Linked DNA regions of Homo sapiens: regions 2, 3 and 4 are each linked to region 1. The links are contacts of gene promoters, found by promoter capture Hi-C in human tissues and cell types (Jung and others, 2019). All regions are on one chromosome and are shown on one strand. Each heading gives the region's core, a stretch centred on a gene start or on the middle of the fragment in contact. The rest is flanking DNA. Distances are from core to core; before and after follow the strand shown.

The links. Contacts are between HindIII fragments. The study calls those that stand out against the background at their distance.
Region 2: a contact is called between a fragment that was not itself captured here and the fragment with the promoter of IGFBP5 in region 1, in 1 of the 25 tissues and cell types used here (H1 embryonic stem cells).
Region 3: a fragment that was not itself captured here is called in contact with the fragment with the promoter of IGFBP5 in region 1 in 5 of the 25 tissues and cell types used here (bladder, heart left ventricle, heart right ventricle and 2 more).
Region 4: a fragment that was not itself captured here is called in contact with the fragment with the promoter of IGFBP5 in region 1 in 2 of the 25 tissues and cell types used here (IMR-90 fibroblasts and bladder).

What each region holds. Positions count from the first base shown.
Region 1 is chr2:216,693,354-216,699,306 of GRCh38, reverse strand. IGFBP5 (insulin like growth factor binding protein 5) reads left to right here and starts at 3,758. Exons shown (of 4, transcript NM_000599.4): 1 at 3,758-4,868. The coding sequence starts at 4,532. IGFBP-AS1 (IGFBP5 antisense RNA 1) reads right to left here and starts at 4,861. Exons shown (of 6, transcript NR_187138.1): 1 at 4,546-4,861. RefSeq lists a silencer at 302-381. The HindIII fragment of the contact is 12,405 bases long and covers 2,029-5,953 here.
Region 2 is chr2:217,116,177-217,122,129 of GRCh38, reverse strand. No RefSeq gene overlaps it. Among named protein-coding and RNA genes, the nearest start is that of DIRC3-AS1, 160 kb to the left of the region's middle. The HindIII fragment of the contact is 6,169 bases long and covers 86-5,953 here.
Region 3 is chr2:217,024,268-217,030,220 of GRCh38, reverse strand. No RefSeq gene overlaps it. Among named protein-coding and RNA genes, the nearest start is that of TESHL, 160 kb to the right of the region's middle. The HindIII fragment of the contact is 7,497 bases long and covers 1-5,953 here.
Region 4 is chr2:216,963,910-216,969,862 of GRCh38, reverse strand. No RefSeq gene overlaps it. Among named protein-coding and RNA genes, the nearest start is that of TESHL, 96 kb to the right of the region's middle. The HindIII fragment of the contact is 8,095 bases long and covers 1-5,953 here.

The sequences.
Region 1 (5,953 bases), core at 2,509-5,008:
CAAGTTCCTACCCTGGCCATACCTTTTCTCCAAAGAAAAGTAATCATGAACACAGCATCTGGTGGGACACAGAGGGTTTTGCACCTCAGGCTGGCCTGGTGCTATTGGGGCAACAGTGCAGTGCCGATGCTGGGGTGGCCTATAAGTGGACCCACAGGGTGTCCGTACCTGTCCTTCCATCCATGCTTTTTCTTCTCCCGTTGCCCCATCCCCATTGTTAAACACCTCTACCAGTATCTGCTTCTTTCCCTTCGTGAAAGGAGGCGTGTTTCTAATGATGTATCTATCCTGCCACCTAGCCTTCAGCAATATCACTACAACAAAGTTGCCTCATGCTGCTCTTTAACACAGACTTCAGTCTTGCTGAACCTCCCAGAGCTAGGGAAGGACCTGAACAAGGGGGCACTTTCTTTATTGAACATCACTGTACCTTAGTTTGGGACCAGGACAACATGGCCGCAGCATTAGTATTCTTGATGTGTGTTGGCCTCTGGGAGAGACTGAAGTCAATGTCATGAGGTCTTTAAAAATTGAATAAATTATATAAATAAGCCTGTCTGAGAGTGGTGAGAGTGACACAGAAAAGAGAATGAAGACAAGATCCTTAGCTAACATTTTTCCATTCTAACCAGTAGAATCCACAATACTTTGTGTCCTACTAAAAAGTCTAGCTTTCCCAAACTGTGTTATCAGGCATCATCCTTGAAAATCACTTAGAAACTCACAGGAAATGACCACAGGCAAGGCATCCGAAGCTTTATAAAATAAAAACACTATCTATCCTTTGAAAAGTTATCCAGATAAAAGATCATAAATCTTTCACTCCGCTGCATTTCTTGAAAGCTGGCTTTGATAAGCAGTTAATCTTTTAAAGGAAAGAGGAGGAGTGATCTCCGGGGAAACGGGACACAAGTGGTTGATATTTAAATACTACTTCCCCGAAAAAGATGCAGTTGACAGGTATAGAAGCTAGTCTATGCCAGAGTTGGGAAGCCCATGACAGCGAAAGCAAGCCGGCAGCACAGGGGGGTCTCTAGGAAGGGAACATTTGTATCTGGCAGGAATTAATGATCCCCTCCCAATTACCCTGGTTGATGCAAACTATTTTTTTTTTCTACAAGCAATTTTCTAAAGGTGATTGTGAACAGATCTAGACCTCCAGAATGGAGGGAAGGGGAAAATGGAATCAAGTAAGGCTCATAGGCATCCTCCATAATCCCGTATCCTGCAGTAACAACACCAACACCTTCCCACTCCATTGTCATATGTTAATTATGGACTCAGAAACAACACCCATCTGGCCAGTCCTCCATCTTTGGATGAAATTACTATAGACAATCCCAGGCTACTGAGAATTCTTCTTTCTCTCATGCCCTCTCGGGAAGCCTATCCCAGGGTCTCTTGGACAACAGCTCCAGTGTCTGAATCCCTTATAACCTAAGCCCATTTCTAAGTGGAGATAAAGAATGGCTGCTTAGCACACCAACACAGCACATGTATACATATGTAACAAACCTGCACATTGTGCACATGTACCCTAGAACTTAAAGTATTAAAAAAAAAAAAAAAGAATAGCTGCTTAACATTTACAGTCTTGCAGAGTAACCTCTCTCCATGGCCCCTGTACTGCTCTGCCCCAGGGTCCGGCTCCCACCACATTCTCCTCCCCCCTTCTCTCTACCCTTTTTATCTTTTCTGTGAATGATCCCCCCTCCTTTTACCTGTCTTCACATATTGTATTATCCAGCCATTGGAAGTCGGCTACACAAAAAGAGGTGTCACTAGAGGCCATCTCTCTCAGAATACAGGGTGACTGGAACGAGGCAACTCATGTTTCTTTGGAAGGAGTACCACAATTTCCCCCAATCATCTTAAAAGCTACCAGTGTGCCTGAGGCAGGCTGAGCTGCTAAGGGTGTGCAGAAAGAAATAGGAGCAGGGAAGAGAACATACTGCACACATTCTGCTGCCACTCTTGTAGTCTGAACTTGACACAAATGACAAAATAACACATGATTTCCCTCACTTCTAAAATATTTCCACCAAAGTTTTGAATATTGATTTGTTCCTACCTTACCAAGCCCTCAGACTGAGAAAAGAAGAAATTAAGATGAGCCTTGCTGCTATTTTTTGTTTTAATCATTACACACAATGCTCCTCCCTCTCCCAGCCACCACGTGGCTAAACCCCCTTTGGCAATACAGGCAAAGACATAACTTTAGACGTTAACCTTGTTTTAAAATGTGCCTTTCGGCAAATAGATAAGTGAGAAGAGAGATCAGGATCTGGGGGTGTTAACGGCATAAAGTGAGATGCTCCTGAACTGAACGAGCAAGAAAAAATATTTTCTTGAAAGCAGTCCTCCAGAAAGAATTCTTATCATAGATAAGGGTGCAGTCTAGTGGCAAACTTCATGAAATGCAGCCCCTTCTCCAAAGGAAAGTTAGAATACTTCTCAAGGGAGGAAGCACAATGTAAAAGGTGTAACAGCCCACACCAAGTCCACCCAGCAGGGGCAGTGACATTGGTCATTTCTCTCTGACTTGCCTGTGAGGCTCATGGCTCACTCAGGTCAATTTCAGAAAAAGCTAAAACCACCACCTTCCTATTTCAAGGCCTTAGTTTTCTTTCATTTTATTAAAGAGGTTCTAGTGGCATGATTCGGTTCCTGGTCAGGACCTCTTCCAAGCAGGTCCTGTGGCCCTGTCAGCTCATATTCCTGGGATGTGCCTATAAGCACCAACTAACCTGTCAACCTATCACAAGGTCTCCTCCAGCTACTCTGCCACCCACTCCCTCCAGGGATGTGGCCCTGCCCAATAGAAATACCTCTGCAAAGTGACAGAGAGGGAAGTGTCACTCCAATCCACCTTTCTTCCCTCTAAGAACCCCACACACAAGGACACTTTAGGCCACCATGCAAGGTTTTCAGACTTAGCATTTCCTCCAAAGTGTCCATCTCTGCAACTCACTGCTCTCAATAATGCTGTTGTATGAATGTCCATTCCTGCAGATACACAACACACACACATACACACACACACACAGAGAGAGAGAAAGAGAGAGAGAACCTCCCTGGCCAACGCAGCTGAAGGCAACTGGTCACCTCTTCATCATGAGTACTGAAACCCCCTGATTAAATCCTCTTCTCCAGACTTTTAGGGGAGAAATTCAATTTTTTCTTCTTTTTTAAATTTAGCTCACCAGACATCACTGGCCATTCTACACTACCTGTCCCCCAAACACACACACACACACACCCCACATGGAAACAGACACCAGCATACAGTCAATTGCAGAAGCTTAGGAAGATTTCTTGGGCACGGTATATCCAGTTGGCTAATAAGAAAATACGTCTCCCTTCAGCCTGTGCCTTGACTACTTAAAGGATAGGAGGGAAGGGGAGACGAAGTTACTCTCCTCATTGTGTTCACCCTGCTCCGAAGAACTCTGTCTTCCACTGGCCCCTCCACCTCCTCCCCATTCTCGGTAGCCCCAGCCTGTCCCCCTTGCCCCTTTCTTACATTCCGGGGGGAGGAGGGCGCTGTTCAGAGGGGAGGAGGGCGCTGTTCAGGGAGCGAAGGGGAGCCCCCTTGTGTCTAGAAGGCCTCTCCCCACCCCCACCCCGTGTGAGTTTGTACTGCAAAGCTCCTTGGCATCCTTGCCTGAGTTGGGTGTTGGGAAGCTCAAATTGCAGCTACAAACTGGCTGGCAGCCAGGGGCCGGCTATTTAAAAGCGCCTGCTCTCCCGGAGCCCCGTAGTCTCTTTGGAAACTTCTGCAGGGGAAAAGAGCTAGGAAAGAGCTGCAAAGCAGTGTGGGCTTTTTCCCTTTTTTGCTCCTTTTCATTACCCCTCCTCCGTTTTCACCCTTCTCCGGACTTCGCGTAGAACCTGCGAATTTCGAAGAGGAGGTGGCAAAGTGGGAGAAAAGAGGTGTTAGGGTTTGGGGTTTTTTTGTTTTTGTTTTTGTTTTTTAATTTCTTGATTTCAACATTTTCTCCCACCCTCTCGGCTGCAGCCAACGCCTCTTACCTGTTCTGCGGCGCCGCGCACCGCTGGCAGCTGAGGGTTAGAAAGCGGGGTGTATTTTAGATTTTAAGCAAAAATTTTAAAGATAAATCCATTTTTCTCTCCCACCCCCAACGCCATCTCCACTGCATCCGATCTCATTATTTCGGTGGTTGCTTGGGGGTGAACAATTTTGTGGCTTTTTTTCCCCTATAATTCTGACCCGCTCAGGCTTGAGGGTTTCTCCGGCCTCCGCTCACTGCGTGCACCTGGCGCTGCCCTGCTTCCCCCAACCTGTTGCAAGGCTTTAATTCTTGCAACTGGGACCTGCTCGCAGGCACCCCAGCCCTCCACCTCTCTCTACATTTTTGCAAGTGTCTGGGGGAGGGCACCTGCTCTACCTGCCAGAAATTTTAAAACAAAAACAAAAACAAAAAAATCTCCGGGGGCCCTCTTGGCCCCTTTATCCCTGCACTCTCGCTCTCCTGCCCCACCCCGAGGTAAAGGGGGCGACTAAGAGAAGATGGTGTTGCTCACCGCGGTCCTCCTGCTGCTGGCCGCCTATGCGGGGCCGGCCCAGAGCCTGGGCTCCTTCGTGCACTGCGAGCCCTGCGACGAGAAAGCCCTCTCCATGTGCCCCCCCAGCCCCCTGGGCTGCGAGCTGGTCAAGGAGCCGGGCTGCGGCTGCTGCATGACCTGCGCCCTGGCCGAGGGGCAGTCGTGCGGCGTCTACACCGAGCGCTGCGCCCAGGGGCTGCGCTGCCTCCCCCGGCAGGACGAGGAGAAGCCGCTGCACGCCCTGCTGCACGGCCGCGGGGTTTGCCTCAACGAAAAGAGCTACCGCGAGCAAGTCAAGATCGGTGAGCGCGCTCAGTGTGCCAGTCAGTTACGCGGCGCACGGGCGGGGGACACGAGACCGGCTGGGCCCGCGCGCTTTGCGCAGCAAGTGGCTTCGAGCTGGGGTGCAGCTCGGGAGTAGTCGGGGAGGGTCCTTGCACCCCGGAATTGGAGCCCTGGAGGATCCTGCTACCCGGGGGAACTGTCTAGCCGAGTCTATCCCAGCTTTCGCTCTTTCTCCTTCCTCCTACCCACACGTTGCCCGCCCCCTCCCCCTACTCTGTCCGAATACTGATTCTGAGCTCTTATTCGGTCACAAGGTCCAAATCCCCTGGTACCCTATCTACAGTCTGAAAGAGTGTATGTTACATTATCAACTCCCTCCTCCACCCCCCTCGCGCCCCGCATAGGTTTTTTTCTGAACTTGGAAAAAAAATCTCTTTTGTTAAAATATTATTTTAATTGCGGCCTGGAGAGAGAGGCATTACCTATCTTCTGAGCTAATTCCACCTTTGTCCCTCTTGGCCCCTCCACCCCCGTGCCTCCAGACGTTTCTATCCCTCCACCCCTACACACACACCACAAACACCCCACATCCTTGGTAGCTAATGCCTTTCGGGTGGGAGCCCTGAAGCCCCTCCCATGTGCATAACCATTGCTTTTTATTGAAGATGATTGCCTGTGGTAGATGGTAAAACATATTTAACTGCAAAATGACTTTTATTTTATCCCAGGAAGGGAAAAAAATACTTTAGGAGTGCGGGGGTGCGGGGTGGGGGTGGGGAAGAGTAGAAAGGAAGGGTTTGGTATTCTGTGCCTGGTGTTCGTTTCTGAATCTAATTCCTTTTCCCCCTCTCCAATTCAGATTTTACCTAGGATGAAAGGTGGACATAGGGCTGGGAGGCAAAAGGGGATGTGAGATTCAGAGCTTTCAACTTCCTCGCCTATGCAGATTCCTGGCACCACCACCACCTCCACCCCCGCCCCGCAATTCCTCCCTCCGCAATCCCCCCACCCCGCCCTCCCCAATCTCTTAAACCAGATCACAAGTGGGTGTGGATTAAGTGCATGAGGGGCCCTGGAAACGCAGAATGCAAAATTCAGGGGG
Region 2 (5,953 bases), core at 1,921-4,420, 420 kb before region 1:
AAATCTCTGTCAACAGGACATGATAGGTACCTACAGTGAGACAACAGGTAGTGGGAAATGCACATCTTTCTAAAATTTGGGTGTGTTACATTTTTATTCCATTCCTTAGGTAGGGATAATCAGATATTTCCAGAAGACACTAAGTAGAATATGGCCTCACTAATCAATTCTCTCCTTCTCCAAAAAAACAGCATGAATGGTGATGGGATAGTTTTCAACAAAAGAATAGCGCCTGTAGCAGTTATGTTCTCACAGCTTTACACTGGAGTCCTGTCATGCACATGAAGGGCTTGCTAGAGAACAGCTTTGATTTGCTTTCTGGTACATGCTTAAAACTTCTGTGTTAAGCAAATCTTAGCCAGAACAGCCCACTTACATTTCAATGTGGAATTTGTACATACATATTGCTCGTCTGTCACAGGCTTGGGGGTGATGTTATATGTGTGTGTGTGTATATATATTATATATACACTCCATGTTGCTAATATATATAATATATAATTATATATATTATATATTATATTATTATATATTATATATTTTATATTATTTTATATATTTTTTATATTTTATATATATTTTTTATATTTTATATATATTTTTATATATTATATATAATATATTTTTATATATAATATATAATATATTTTTATATATTATATATAATATATTTTTATATATTATATAGTTTATATTTTTATATATTATATATAATATATTTTTATATATTATATAGTTTATATTTTGATATATATTTTATATTTTTATATATATTTTATATATATTATATATATTTTATATATAATATTGCTAATATATGTAATATATAATATAATATATATTATATATTATGTTATATTATATATAATATATAATATATAACATATAATATATAAAATATATTGTTATATTATATATAATATATAATATATAACATATAATATATATATTATATATAACAAATATGTATTATATGTTATACATAATATATAATATAGTATATATTATATATATTTATATTATATATTTATATATAATATATTATATATTTATATAAATATATATTATATATTTATATATAATATATATTATATATTAGCATATATATATTAGCATATATATAATATATATTACATATATTAGCATATATATAAAATATATTACATATATTAGCATATATATAATATATATTATAAATATTAGCAACATGGAGTGAGGTTATGGCACAAATGGACTTCAGCTCATAAAATCACTTACCCATTGATTTGAGCCTGGCCTGTCTTCACCGTGGCTGCCATGGTCCTGATTCTTGAATGTCTAACTTTCCTTGAGGAACCTCAGTCTCCCTAAATGGGCTACAGGAAGTGTTTTCCCAAGGAACTAGTGGCACAAGTAAAGCAAATATGATAAGTCATTCTGTACAAATGTTGATTTCCTTCAAAGGAAACTCCATGGCTCTCCCACAACTGTGCCTCTTCCGCTCCCTAAGCTCAGATCTGAGCACGATAACAATGGTCCACAGTACATTTGTCAAACTCTGGCTTATTCGGTCTTAAATAATACCAGCTCTGGGCCAGGTTGAAGGCCTCTCTTACCACCTTCCTATCATGGTATTTTCTCCAGCATGAAATGAAGATGTTCATCTCATCATCTCCCTACTAGTAGTTCGTATCACTACTGCAGTTGTTTAGCCTCCTGTGAGAAACTGCTTAGAAAGAAGGATCTATATTTCACCCAAAATGAACAGCAACTTTCTGGATATTGAAGTTGGGACAAATGAATTTCCTAATGTCCAATATCCAGAAAGCTACTATTTAACAATATATCCAACTTAAATTACTGAACAAAAATTTTTAACATTGGTTGGAAGCATCAGCATTGTGACACTTTGCTGGCTTAGGAGGTAGCTATTCTGGAATAGGAGGTAGGTACTCTCCCAATGTCTGACAAATTAAGTCTTACAAAATGTGTTTCTGCTAAAACAAATGAGGAAAGGCATTATGGACCCACAACCAAATTCCATTATCCATTCTAGAATCCAAACTCTGCTTACAACCCCCCAAATTGCAGCTTTCTAATTTTAAAATTTTTCATATCCAGACTTCATCAAGCCCCCTTACTCCATAATTTTCTCTGGCAGACCTCAAAATTGAGTATAATATAAGATAATCAAGAGAGTAGACACAATGCTTCGGGTAATTAGAGGAAGCCAAGAGACCTGCAGCTGGAGGGCTAGGATGACTGGGAATTGCTCATAGAGTTGGGTGAGAATTCTGAAATCCCTTCTGCCTGACTCCCCTCTCCATAAGCAAGGGAATCCAATCAGCGTAGGTATCAGTTGGTTTCCAGGCAGTGAAGTAGAAATAGAGACATGGAATTATATAATAACTCTGTTGATTCAAAAGTGAGGGTGAGACCCAGCTGAGACCACCAATGGGCAATTATGCTTGTTTCTGTGCATCTGCCCCTGGATGTATGCAGGCACATGTCTTTGGACTCTGGTGAGCACAGGCTTTCTACTGAAGAACAAGTTGAGGCAGTATATTCACCCCAGCTGGAAAGCACAGAAGCCAGGCTGGCTGTGGTGAGGGGTGTGGAGTTGTGGCAGAAGTACCTGGTCTCCCAATTTCCACATGCACAAATGGTACTAAAAGAAAACCAGGAAGTACCACCAGTAGAATTGTCACACAGCTTCCCAAAGAGTCAATCAGCACTTGACTGTGAATCTCATCCCAGCTGAGATGAATCCAAGGTGTCAGAAACACCAAGAGGCCATCAACCTACGTGAGTTAGAATGACCTTCCTTAAAGATTTGAGGAATTAAAGAGCTGTGAGAGTGATTACAGACAACGTAGAGGTTTTACAGGTCTTACAAGTTTTGTAATTCAACCAGTTTCTCCTCTCTGGACCTCTGTGCCTGCCACGTTTCTGTCTTTCGCCTGCATCCTGGGTAATATCATGCACACTCTTTTAGGGGGCACTGTATCATAACTCCTAATCTGCCAGGCGGAAGGACAGAGAAATATTTCTGATGGTTCCCCAGAGTGCAATTGATCATAAAATACATTCAGTCCTATCTTCTCTAACCAGTAATGTACTGCATTTTCAATCCAGATATAGCAGAACTTGTCATGGATGAAGGAAGAATAAAAATGAGCCTTAATTCAGCCTAAATAGTTCATTGGCAAAAAGTAGAGGAAGCAGCAGTGTGATAAAAGGGTAGTAAAAAGAGGAAAAGGTTGTCACATTGTAGCTTACTCATCACTTTGAACCAGCCCAATGAGAAGATGCTGGCAGGCTGACATGGAGCATCCTTATGTGCCGTGGTGGCAGCAGGGCCCAGGCTGCTGGCAATGACAGCAGTACCAGCAGCTGTCACCCTCTGGACAAGCTATGCGCCAAGAGAGCTGGTTGACATGGAGGTGAAGAGACTCACTCTGTCCTAGCCCGGACTTCATAGCACAGATGCTTCCTGGGCCATGTAGCCCACAGGTCCCCTCAGTCCTACTGAGTAAATGGTGGAGAGGGAGGAACTTTTTTCTTATAATTGAAGGATTAATGCCAAGGGCTTTCCCTTCAAAGCAGAGGGTTGACGATGGGGATGAGGGATTATAACTCCGTACCTAATATGATTGGTTAGACCGAAAATATTCAGAAAGATCAGACAAGGACAATCTTCAGCTGATGCCACCAGGTTAAAGCTAAGGACAAGCCACCCAGCTCGACGAGACTGTCGAAAGGAAAGCATCCTAAACTGGCAGGCAGAATGTTAATGAGAAAAGAGAAAAGAGTTAGTTTAAGGGAAACAGTCACACATAAATACCACTCATATGTGTGGACGAAGCCTGATAATTCTTACTGTTGAAAAAAAAATACACATTCTAAAAAGGAGTACAAGGTTAAGAAAAAACATCATAGAAAAAAGAAGCAGAAGAATGTAGTGGACTGGAACTCCAAATGTCCTGCTGAAATATCCAGCAGGATAAAAGGAGAGGAAACTGAAGCTTAGGCTAGGAAGACACAGTGACTGCCAGAATCAATGCGGTGTTTCTCCTGTCCCTCTCCACTTCTGTGGCTGACGGCCATTTGTCTATCAGCCTTCCTGCATCCTATTGGTGGTGAGCTCTCTGTCAGAATCCCTGAACGGAAAGCCTTGGGGGAATTGAAAGCCATTCTCACTTGGCCAGTTGGACAGTGGTAGTTAGTTCATACCTTTTCTCATCAGATTTTGAACATCTGGCCACTGTTGCATCCAGTGAACACCACACTCCTGGTAGATTAAAGAGAAGCTGCCATGGCCTTCAGCTTGCAGTGACTACAATGCAGCATTAGAGTAAGATGAATACCTAACTGGGAGAGGCAAGAGGAAAAAACATGAAGATACAAAGACAGGAAGTCATGTGGCCAATCTCAGTGGTCAGGTGACGCCATGCAGTGAGCAAAGGAACAGATTACACTGAAAAGTAATTTGGGAGAATCCACCACACTTGGTAATAAGGCAGCCATCCCCAAAGCAAGAGGTCAGTTTTGCAGCCACTTCATGCCAATTCCATCATCAGTTCCCTAGAACATAAAACCTACAATTCTTTTAGCCCCCTTTCTGTTGAGCAAAAGCACAATTGGTATTGGGATAACACAGAGCATTATTCCAACCTAAACAAACTTGGAAGATTCTAATTTTCACTGTTGTCCACAAAGAGGTGAGAATCAAAGAAAAAATAGTAACTAACACTATTCAGCCAAGGAATGCCAAGGATTTCCCACAACCCTAGGAAGAGACAAGGCAGGATCCTCCCCTAGAGTGTTGAGAGAGAGCATGGCCCTGACAACACCTTGATTTTGAATTCCCAGAGTTCAGAACTGTGAATGAATACATTTCTGTTTTATTTAGACCTCCCAGTCTAAATCTGGGGCAGCCCTTGGAAACCAATACAAACCCTTCTTCCCCTGCTGCTTGTGGAAATCTCCCAGAAAATGGGGCTGATGCTGGCACCCTCCCGGGAGAAGCACCACAGAAGACTGCAGGTGAATGTGATGAAGAGTGAATGGCGCATAGGCTGGGAGGAAAAAACCTTCTGGAATGTCCATCCTCAGCAAGACACTCGGGCCAGTCTGTGTTTTATGAACCCTGAAATTCCCCATAAAACCTGTACTGCTGATGGGCTAGCCCCTGCTCAGCAAATTAGGAAAGGAAAGACAAGGGTAGATAGAATTAACATTCACTGAGAAATTATTGTATGCCAGAACACTGAGAGCTGTTCTGAGTGCTTCACACGTAATATCCCATCAAATCCCCCAGTAACTCCTATGGTGGGAATGATTAATAGCCCTACTTTACAGATGAAGAAGGTGTCTCAAAGAAGCTATGTAACTTGCATGAGGTCACTCAGCTAATAAGTCATAGAACCAGGATTTGACCCCAGGCAGTCTCTGAATGATTATTACAAGTTCAGAGACTGGGGGATTTAGAAGCTTCCCAATCCAGTTTTGTGTCCAATTAGGAATAAGAATAGCCTCTGTTGGGTCCTGGGAAGATGGCTGTCTAATCCCAATCACAGGGAGCTCACTGCCTCACCTGGTTGTCCTTCTGCCAATGGAAGGATCTGAGCTAGAGATTTTAACTCAAATGCCTTAAGGAGTCCAGCAAAGAATGTTAGGGAGGGAGGTAAGCAGGATGGCTTGTGGCCTGGAGAGTACAGGCCATCTGGATGTGTTGATGATGGAATAAACAAAGAAACAGACACTGGGGGAGACAAATTCAGCCCCTGAATTGGCCTGGGGGTCAGGCTGTCTGACTGAAGCAAGAGCCCTGCACAGGATCCAGAGCTGTGCTAAAAACCCCTAACAGGCTATGCTATTGGGACCAAGACAATATCAGATGGGGGTAGTCAGGAAGTCCAGAGGGGCCTCAGGAAAACAGAAAAAAAGGAAGGATGGATGGGACGAGGGAAGG
Region 3 (5,953 bases), core at 1,662-4,161, 330 kb before region 1:
CACGAAGTGGAAGAAAAGGATAGGACAATCAATCCAGGACAGACAAAGACAGATAAAGGCAATGAGCAAAAGAGGCATCCCTCTCCCCACCTTATCCTGGCCCTTCTTCCTCCTTGGAATCTCACACTAGGACATTTTTCCTCCCTTTCCTGTGTCTTAAACTTCTAGCTCCACTTTTTCCCTCTACATATAAACACTCTTAGGTTTCATTCTCAAAAGAAGGCAGAAAAAGAAAAGAGAGAAGAAAGGAAGTACCAAACAAAGAAAGAGGGAGGAGGGAAAGAAGGACCGGGAGATGGAAGGAGGGACATGTAAACCTCCCACCCAGATCACTCTCCTCCTGTGGACACAAACATCTCCTGAGCATCACCACTTGGTGACAGGAGGTGGAGCTTAACATGGCCAGCAGCAAATTTCTCATGCCTCCCTCCCACCACCACTTTTCTTCCCCTCCTTTTGCTGTAGCCAGTAGCTTTGTGATTGCCCAAAATGAGGATCCCAGGGTTATCCTAACACTCCATATTCAATCAGTAACCAAATGTTATCTCACTACTTCTCAAATGTCTCTCAAATTGTTTTCTCACCCCCATCAGTATTTCCTTGTCCACTCTATTTATTTATTATGAGACAGAGTTTCACTCTTTTTGCCCAGGCTGGGGTGCAGTGGTGCCAACTCAGCTCACTGCAACCTCCGCCTCCCAGGTTCAAGCGATTCTCCCGCTTCAGCCTCCTGAGTAGGTGGGATTACACGTGTCTGCCACCACACCCAGCTAATTTTGTATTTTTAGTAGAGACGGGGTTTCACCATGTTGGCCAGGCTGGCCTTGAACTCCCGACTACAGGTGATCCGCCCACCTCGTCCTCCCAAATTGCTGGGATTACAGGTGTGAGCCGCCGTGTCCAGCTGCTTGTCCACTTTAGGCTTCTCTCATCTCCTTTTCATCAGACTTCACTAGTCTCTAAACTGGTCCCATGCCTTCACTCTCGCTTCTTTTATTCCCTCCCCACCCTTGAGCCAAAAGACTAAACTTTCTAAAACTTGAAGTGAATCCTAACATTAGGATGCTTCAAAACCTTCAGTGGCTCTGCAAATTCTCCAGAACAGCAGTTAGCCCTTCAGCATGACAGGTAAAGCCCTTTGCAAGCCGGCCCCTGCCTACCTCTCCAGCCATGCCCCAGGCTCTCACAGGTGCTCTGTATTTCTCCCCATACCCAACTCCTCCAAGTGCCTGAACCCTCCATGCTCTACCACATGCTGTCTCACACCTCAAGGCTTCATTCCTCTCTCAGAAGTGTCCTGCCTCCATTGTCTGTCTAGAAAGCCCCTAGTCCTCCGCTAGATCTTAGCCCTAATACCAGTTTCTCTGTGAAGACTTACCTAGCATCCTTGGGACAGACTGAAAGGGTCCCCTTTGATTACCCTTGACAGTTGGCACATTTCTTAATTAACCCTATTTTAATTGTATTGTAACTGTTTGTTTGTCCAGCTTCCAAACAAGACTAGTCTTGGAGGAAGGAATGATGTCTTTCTTCATATACCCCTTGCCAGAGCAGTGTTTGCTACCCACTAAACTTGCACTTCATAGCAAATATTTGTTAAATGAACAAAGATGCGACCAGATAAACAGTGACTGAAACCAAAGATAAAATGGTCACAAACCCAAAAGCATTTGATGCACTATGGCTTTGGGGTAAATGAGTCAGAAAACATAAAAATTAATATGTTGCTGCAGCATCAATACTCAGCATAGTATCTCTGGGGGCAGAGGATGAAATTAAGGAGACAGAAAGCAATGAATTAGACACAAAATTCAGTGTGGGCCAATGATTGGGACAAAAATGGTAGCAGCCTAACTATGATTACAACAGGGAATTGCTGACTGTTAAACTAACTTGATGTAATTTAACTCATTAATTGGTTTTTCAAGTAATGAGAGGCTTGGTTTTTCTGGCTCGGGAGAGTGGAATTAGTTCCAAATGGAAAATAAGGAGAGGCAGATTTCAATGCAACATCAAGATATTTCTAGCAATAAATCTGCTTACATATGGACTAGGTCAGAATGTAGGAGTCTTTGTTCTACCACCTACTGGCTCTGTCACCTTGAGCAAGTTCTTTAACCTCTCTGAGCCTCAATTTCCTTGTCGTAAAATACATACAATCATAGTATACACCTGAACATAAATATTATAATGACATAATATATTTAGCATGCAGTAAGCATACAATGCGTATTGACTTTTATTAGTAGTGGAACTTAGTTCCCTATAATTGAAACTTTTGGAACAATGGTGGAATAATTATTAAGTGCAAACATTTCTTTTTCCTTTTTACTGTCTCTGTAGTATTATACTGATTTCCATATTATCTCTCCTAGTAGATCATAATTTGTCAAGGTCATGGTCCAAAATCTATTTCATTTTAATAACTTCCAGATCCCTTGCACCTAGGAACCATTTGAGCAATATATGTTGAACTGAGAGATAAAGAAGATCTAAGCATCAGAGGGAAGAGAAGACTAAGTCACCTCCAAAGTTTATTTAGACAACAGAATCCTCTGATTCGTTCATGCATGCATTCATTTACTCAACAAAATGGTGTGGGTGGTAACAATGTGTTATGCAATAGCCTGCTGTTGGGGATGAATTATAAAAGCAGGCAGTCTCTGACTACATGGGGCTTAGAGTCTAGTGATTCCAAGACTGCTGAGCTACAAAGTTCTATGTTACCTAAACTACCCTAGAAATATTTTAATGCTAATGGTGTAGTTCTTTGTTTTGTTCCTCTAAATAGATTGCTTATTTTATACTATCCTGGAAAGTCATTTAGGAAAGAGACCAGAAAGGAGCAAAAAGGGAGTGGCTATTGTCAAAAACACACAGCTATTTTTTAGAAGTGCAAATCCAAACCTCATGGATGATACAGGACAGAATCTTTATCAGTAGCAAAAGGCCTATCAAGTTCTCTAATTAGTGCTATCCTTTCCTGCCTCTTCCATTATGCTCTGATAGTCCACCCTCAAATCCCCAGTGCAAGACAGAGTTTGAGAAGTGGACATGTGACCCTAGAAAAGGTACCTTTTTGCTACATAGAATCCAAGAGAGCAGAGTGAAAATGGAAAGGAAGCAGCATCAAACCACATGCTCAGACTTGGGGGTTGGGGGTTGTTCCATCCAAAGCTAATGTAATAAATGCCATGAGTTACCAAAGAATGCCAGACTTTCTCTGGAGATGTCTACTACTCCAGAGGCTGTGAATATTTTCTTTACTTAAAACAAGTCTTTAACCCTGGTGGATCATGAATGGTCTTTGGGGATATGTGAAGTCCTAAAATTACAGACAGAATTAAATATGTAGGTTTTTTAAGGGAGAAGTTTCACAGCTTACATAAGATTCCCAAAGAGATCTGTGGTCCAAAAAATCTGTCATGTTAATTGGAGACATGTTGCTGACTAAGCAGTTATTCTAAATTGGAGGCAAATGGAAGGTTCAGAAAAGCATTCCCATTGTGCTCACAACCAGGTCAATTAAACGCTCACCAGCCTCTGAGCACATCTCCCATTATTCTTCTTCCAGGAAGTTGTCCTCAAAGAACCCTAAAAATTCCATAGCACTCAATGTACACGTATATAGAGAGTACGTGGGTATGAGTGTGCATGCGTGTGTGTATGTGTGTGTGTGTGTGCATGCACATACGTGAGTGAAAGTCCAAGCAGAAAACAGACAGTGCACTGAAATTGGGTTATTTGGGAAAAGCTTAATAAAGGTTCTATTTACTGGGTGTAGTGAAATCATAAGGGATCGTGCAGTCCTCCGTGCTAATAACAGCTGGAGCTATAATCACCCCTAGGCGTTAAGGGTCAAGAAGAGGGAGTGGTGTTGGAACCCAGAGACAGAGAGAACTGTGAGAAAAGTGATGCCTGACAAGAGGGTGACCTTCTGTCAAGGGACGCAGACAGCCCAAGGTGACACACCAGGAGAGAATATCACAGGAATAAATACTACAACTTCTGTCCTCCCTTCAGTGATCTGCCAGGGCTCCCCATTTGCCAAATCTAATAGAAGCCAGAGGACAAGGGAGACCATTGATGTAAGTCATAAGATCAGCTTCCATGAAGTATAGAGTAGACCCGGAGGAACAAACTGAAGAAATTCCAGCCTGGTGTGTGTGTGCACGTGTGTGTGTTCCCCACACATGGGAGGGTAAATAATCTAAATTCAGATCCACTGGTCTTTACCTTCAACAAGTTAAGATAGAGGGGCTGGGAATAAATAAGAGACTCACATTTCTTGCTCACCTCTTTGTCAGTCACTGTAAAAAAAGAATTGCCTCCTGTGTTCACCTAAGACTGCCAACAACTCCAAGTGGTAATATAGGATACAACCAGAAATGGAACGGGAATCTGTTTGACTCCAAACTCATGCATTTTTCACTACACCCTGCAACACCATACTGGAAAAGAGAACTTGAGATATTTGAAGAGCTTGTGCGGAAGGTGTTCTTGAAGTGGATTCTTTTGGTTGAGATGAGGTAAAGAGGTGAGTAAGGGGGGTCACAGACTTCAGGGCCAGTTTTCACAGAATTGAGCCAAGATTAATATGGAGTCTAAGTGTGGGTACTGTTTGAACAGAAACTGTTTTCATATCTATGAGGTATACTGACACAAAACCATGTTTGCGCAAACACACATACACACAGAACCTCACACACACGTAGCCTGCCACAAGAAACTAACTGAGTATGGGTAAAAATAGGGCCAAAAAGAAGAGTGTGATGGACTAGTAGAAAAACTGCAGAGGAAACCGTAGCAGTAAACGACTTCAATAATATTCACCAAAGACAAATGCAAGCATAATAGAATATTTAGTTATCACATAAACATATAGTAATTCAGCCTCTGCAGTTGTGAAGATCAACATGGACAACATCTAGCACAGTGCTGAGCTCTTAAGAAAAGCTCAGTAATTGCATTTTGATGTGGAGAGGGGCACAATGATGGCCTATTTTCTTCTCGGTTGGATTCTTTCAGCCCTTGCCAAGTTAGCAGCCCGGTGGTAGAATATATATTATTTTTATTATTATACTTTAAGTTCTAGGGTACATGTGCAGGTTTGTTACATATGTACACATGTGCCATGTTGGTGTGCTGCACCCATTAACTCGTCATTTACATTAGGTGTATCTCCTAATGCTATCCCTCACTCCTTCCCCCACCCCACGACAGACCCCAGTGTGTGATGTTTCCCACCCTGTGTCCAGGTGTTCTCAATGTTCAATTCCCACCTATGAGTGGGAACATGTGGTCTTTGGTTTTCTGTCCTTGCAATAGTTTGCTCAGAATGATGGTTTCCAGCTTCATCCATGTCCCTACAAAGGACATGAACTCATCCTTTTTTATGGCTGCATGGTATTCCATGGTGTATATGTGCCACATTTTCTTAATCCAGTCTATCACTGATGGACATTTGGATTGGTTCCAAGTCTACTATTATGAATAGTGCCACAATAAACATACGTGTGCATGTGTCTTTATAGCAGCATGATTTATAATCCCTTGGGTATATACCCAGTAATGGGATGGCTGGGTCAAACGGTATTTCTAGTTCTAGATCCTTGAGGAATCGCCACACTGTCTTCCACAATGGTTGAACTAGTTTACAGTCCCAGCCCGGTGGTAGAATATCTCTCTCAAGGCTTTGCTGGATGGAGGGTCTATAGCAGCAGCAACGCTCAAATTTTTTCTATCTCTTGTCTCTTTGTACTGCAATTCCTCCTCAATCCTTGGTGGTAAAAATGGGGTCAGGGCACCTAAAAGGCAACCCTCACTACCCAAACAGGTGTTTCTCTTTGCTTTGCCATAAACTGGTTGTGTAATGTTGGGCCAGGCCAGTCTCACTGTGGGCATCAGTTTCCTCATTTGTAAATGAAAGGGTTGGGCCAACTCTCTCTGGTTC
Region 4 (5,953 bases), core at 1,209-3,708, 270 kb before region 1:
TCTTTCATAGACGTGAAAGGCCACATCACTCCATCCCTCTACTGAAGCTGAAATGTTGTCATTTAGAGATGCCCCAGTTTACCAACCTGAAAAATGCAAGACACAACCAACCATCTGCCCTGCTTACTTGAATGAGTTGATAAAAAGAACAAAACTAAAATGAATGTAGGAAAGCAGTTTCTAGGCTCTATAGCATACCATGCATACATAGCATCCTGGGTTGAGTTGGCTGTTGGATTAAAAAATCTCACAGAGAAAGCATATTGGTTGTTAACTAGGGCTGGGGCAAGGGGGCGATGGGAGTGTTGCAGTGGGGTTGGCTAAGGCATGTAGAGCTCCTTTCTGGGGCAGTGAGAATGTTCTAAACTTGTAATGATACACAACTCTGTGAATATGATTTAAAAAACACTGAATTGTACACTTTAAATGGGAGATTATATGCTATATGAATTATAGCTTAATAAGTCTATGAAAGAGAAGAGAAAAGAAAATGAAAGAAAAGGGAAGGGAAGGGAAAGGAAAGGAAAGGAAGGGAAGGGAAGGGAAGGGGAAGGTAGGACGGAAGGAAGGAGAGAGAGAGAGAAAGGAAGGAGGGAGGGAGGAGGAAGGGAAGAACTTCAAAGACTCCATCTCTTTACTGGTCTTTCTGGCCCTGACATTCGTCTTTCTTCTCAAGACCTTCTGTCACTTGTCGTTCCCTGAGCCCCATCAGCCCTATGCCTCTGGGGAGCCCAGGGGCTTTGTGTCCTGTCTCTAACACTAGGCCCATTTTTGTACTGAGTTCTCTCCATAAAGAGAGCTTGTCCTCTACTAAGAGTAGAGAACAAGAGAAGAAATGGACTAATGTCAAGTGAACAACAAACTTAGATAAGACAAAATGGGTGGTTAGAGTCTGGGATGTGACAGTATGGGGTGGGTTACAGTCTCTAGAATAGGTGTGTGAAATGGAACCTAAAAAAGATATTCAGTTAATGAAGGACTATAGCTCTTACAACTGGCTTACAGGGATTGGAGATGAGAGGCAGTAAGTCCCTCTTCATCTTTACTTTAAAGGCACTCTCTCCTCCTTACTTGCCTCTTTTTCATCTCCTAGAAATGCTGGAGAAGAGGAAGAAAGAGCTTTGAGAACACAGCTCATAGCTTGACCCAGTTTCCCCTGCCTGCTTCCCTAGATCTGCCTTGTTCTGCAGAGAACCTTCTCTGACACCTTCCCATCCAAGCAACCACCATGGAAAATGGGCAAGAAGGAGCAAGTTCAGGAGACCAGAAAGACCTCCAGGTATCAAGGGAGCCCCCAGGTCTCCCACCCCATACCCTGGCTGCAGAGCCGCTGACCCTCTCCTGCCCCAGCCTAGAGCTTTCCAGGGCCAGGACAAAGATGGAGCACTCCTTAAGGAGGCCCTGCCGCAGGACCCAAGCTGACATGCTCTTTTAGGGTGTCTCAGCCTTTCTCAGAACACAAGTTGGTCTAGAATCAGCACTCTGCAAACTATAAGAATAAAAAAAGAATCCCACTTTTGGGGAGCACATGGTGGGAGAACCAGTGCTGTGACTCATGCTGGTCCCAAGAGACAACACCCTGACCCTCAGCAGCCCCCTGCAGCACCTGCTTCCTCCACCGCCTACTGCTCTCAACTCCCATCCAGACCTTCATCCTGCCAGCACAAATCAGCAGAATGGATGTTGGACAGCTGGAATCACCATCAGCTCTCACTATGTCTCTGATTCCTGCAGGGCCTGCCCCATGCCCTCTTCCCCCACCCTCCCATGGCCTCTCACTCAAGTTCATTCTTCTCCTGGCACCAACAGCCATTTTCCACCACCCTGCTGGCCTCTGTCCAGCCAACCCCCCAAGGGGTTTTCACTCTCCACCTCATCTGTCTCCTTCATGCTCCTCCTGCTGGAACTGGGTCTTCCAACTCTATTTCTAGATTCTTTCCATTGCCCTCTCTTTGGCTAGGTGGCTTGCTTCTCCAACCCCCCTTGCATTTCTCTGGCCCCTAATAAGCATCTCCAGGATGGAAGATGGGGAGCTACAGTTTGCAACTATGTTCTTTGTTCCTAATGGAGTCCTCCTTCCCATCCTCCCCAATCCTGCCATAGAAACACAGAGCTTTGATGAAAGGAGGGCTTTGTCACTACCTCCTGTGCCTGGAAGAGGTCCTCAAGTCCTCTCTGTGATGTCCCTGCCACACAGGGAGAAAGAGGGATAATTCCTGTCTGTGCTGGACAGAACCCTGGTTCCATAGCCTCCTCCATCCACTCTTTCACTGACTTTTCATTCCCCACTCTCTTCCTCTGCCCATACCCAGGTAGGAGGAGTATACTCTCAAATTCCACTACTGTAGTTAACATTCACACAGATTATTAGGTGCTAAAACTTTCCATAGGTACTAGTCACTAAGGGCTACTGACTTGTTTCTATCTTTGGGTGATTCTTTAAGCTGGGACAGAGCCCTCTTTTTCTAAACCTGGGAATGTCATTTCTTTCATCTTGGGCCCTCTATTCGATTGGGCTCTCTCCTGCACTCCATGCTGCCTACACCTGGCCCCTTCAATCTCTCAAAGCTCCACTTCTAAGAATCCTGAAAATATCTTTCCTTACATTGGTGAATACCCAGAACAATTTTGCATTCCAAAAATGATTTCTATTGGCTCTCTTTACTTTTAAAAAGACTTAGCCTACATTTACAACTGCAAATATATGTAGATATATGTGTACATATATGTACATGTATGTGTACACACACATGCACACATATATAACATACGTGTGTATGTATGTATACACACACATATATATAATCTTGCCTCTACTCACTCCTCAATCTGCAGTATTTAGTCTTCCTGAGATTGAGATAGAGGAATATTTCAGAGAACATTGTAAAAAAAATTTTCAGAAAAAACTGCAGTGACAAAGCATTAGAGAAACTAAAATACATGACTATGCATCAAGAATAATTATTACTTTGTTCATGTAATTTTAATAAATAATAAATTTAAAGAAGCTTTTTATAATTTTGATTTAATGAGTATATACACATATATTATTTTAGCTTTTTAGAAAGAGTTTTACTTTTGCCCGGGCCATGGTAGCTCACACCTGTAATCCCAGCACTTTGGAAGGCTGAGGTGGGTGGATCACCTGAGGTCAGGGGTTCAAGACCAGCCTGACCAACATGGTGAAACCCCGTCTCTACTAAAAATACAAAAAATTAGCTGGGCATGGTGGTGCATGCCTGTAATCCCAGCTACTCTGGAGGCTGAGGCAGGAGAATTGCTTGAACCCGGGAGGCGGAGGCTGCAGGGAGCCAAGATCACACCATTGCACTCCAGCCTGGGCGACAGAGTGAGACTCTGTCTAAAAAAAAAAAAAAAAAAAAAAAAAAAAAAAAAAAAAAAAAAAAAAAAAACAGAAAGAGCTTTACTTTTGAGAGCAGTTTTGAATAGAACTATTTTAACTATTTTATAAGCTCCACAATATAACAAAACTAATTTTTGGTCAACAAACAAATTAAAAATAATTATTTTATCATCCTCTTTGACTCTTAAGGATGACAATAAGTTCTACGGCAACCCTGAGTGTAGAGGAACACAAGAAAAAGTATCAGCTGGGCGCAGTGGCCCATGCCTGTAATCCCAAAACTTTGGGAGGCCAAGTGGGTGGATCACCTGAGGTCAGCGGTTCGAGATCAGCCTGGCCAACACAGTGAAACCCCATCTCTACTAAAAATACAAAAATTAGTGGGGCATGGTGGCAGGTGCCTATAATCCTAGCTACTCGGGAGGCTGAAGCAGGAGAATTGCTTGAACCCAGGGGAGGGAGGTCGCACTGAGCCGAGATAGTGCCACTTCACTCCAGCCTCAGCAAAAGAGTGAAACTTCATCTCAAAAAAACGAAAAGAAAAAGCATCGTAACTGAAGCTGCTGTTACCTCCAAGCCTAAAAGAGCAAGAGGAAAAAGTGGCATGGAAACCCGGGAAGAATCACGTAGAAATGGCTTCTTGAAAGGACTTTTTGTTCAAAGGACATCAGCTCCTGATGATCTCACAGAGGAGGGACCCAGAAGAATCAACCCTCTTCTCTCTCTCTCTCCTTCCTCTCTCTGTCTCTGATTGTAGCTGGAGATTCCCACTGATTGAACCCAGCTGCAAGAAGGGCACAAGGATCCACTGATGTGACCCATAAAGGTCAGCTGCCCAGGGCAGAGAGCAGAGTGGAGAAATGCAGAGAGCAGGTCTGGAAGGTTAAACAGAAGATACCTGGTCATTCACTAAATGTTCTCCAGGTGTGGCTTTTAAATGATTTTTTTTAACTATGAATCCTTGGCTTGAGTTAAATCTTACAAGGAAGCCAAGTATGTAAAACAAAAAACCACCCAATGAGGAATGAGAGACCTAGAACCCAAAATTCCATCCAGGGAACTCCACTGAGAAAGGCTTAGAAATGCTTAAAAAGCACTGTCCTGCAACGTGAGTTTAAATGGCTACATAGAATTCTAATGATTAATGTACCATTATTTATGAAAACAATCAGAATAAATGCAAAGTTTTTCTCAACATAAGCAGTGTTGTGATAAAACATTAATTACTATCTGAGAAAGATTTCTGAAAGTAGAAAAACTGGCTTGAAAAGTAGGGACACTCTTGTTTCTTGATTTGTGTTGCCTAATTACCCCTCCAAAATACTGTACATTTCAAAACAATTTATAGTGCTTGAAGAGTCTGTTTTTCTACATTCTTGCCAAATTGTGGTATTAATGGTTTTTAATATTTTTGTCATTTTTTAGACACACAAAAATAATATATCATTGTTATTTTCTTTTTGAGTCAGGGTCTTGCTCAGTCACTCAGGCTGGAGTACAGTGGTGCCATCACAGCTCACTGTAACTGCAAACTCCTGGGATCAAGCGATCCTCCCACCTCAGCCCCCAGAGTAGCTGGGACTTCAGGTGTGTGCCGCTATGACTGGCTAATTTTTTAATTTTTTGTAGAGACAGGGTCTCACTATGTTGCCCAGACTGATCTCAAACTACTGGCCTCAAGCAATCCTCCCACCTCAGCATCCCAAAGCCTGGGATTATAGGCATGAGCCACTGCACCTGCCCTGTTATTTTAATTTGAATTTCTTTTGTTATCTTTCAGATCGACCTTTTTTCTATATGTATACATAGATTGGCAATTTAAAATCCTTCATGAGTTATGTATGTTCCTCTGTTACTGATTTGTAAGAGCTCTTTATATAAAGGATATATATAACAAATATTTCCTGTATACTATTTTTAAGTAATATTTTTAGACACATGAAAGTCTTCAGTGTTTATGGAAACACATCTATCAATACAAGCACACCTCAGAGATAGTGCACATTTGGTTCCAGACCACCACAATAAAGTTAATACCGTAATAAAGAAAGTCACACAAATACTTTGCCTTCTCAGTGCAAATCAAAGTTGTGTTTACATTATACGGTAGTCTACTAAGTGTGGAATAGCATTATGTCTAAAAACACAATGTACATACCTTAATTAAAATATACATTATCATTAATAAAAAGTTAAGGGTCATTTAAGCCTTCAACAAGTTGTAATAGTTTTGCTGCTGGAGAGTCGTGAATTGGTGCTGATGGCTACTGACTGGTCAGGCTGGTAGTTGCTAAGGATTGGGGTAGCTGTGGCAATTTCTTAAAATGATACAACAATGAAGTTTGCCATGTGGAATGACTCTTTCGAGAAAGATTTTGGAGCATGTGATGGTGTTTGATATCATTTTATCCACAGTAGAACTTCTTTCAAAATTGAAATCAATCCTTTCAAATCCTGCTGCTGCTTTATCAACTATTTTCATTGAATGTTCCAAATCCTTTATTGTTATTTCAACAACATTGACAGCATCTTCACCAGGAGTAGATTCCACCTTAAGAAACCACTTTTTCTGCTCATCCACAAGAAGCA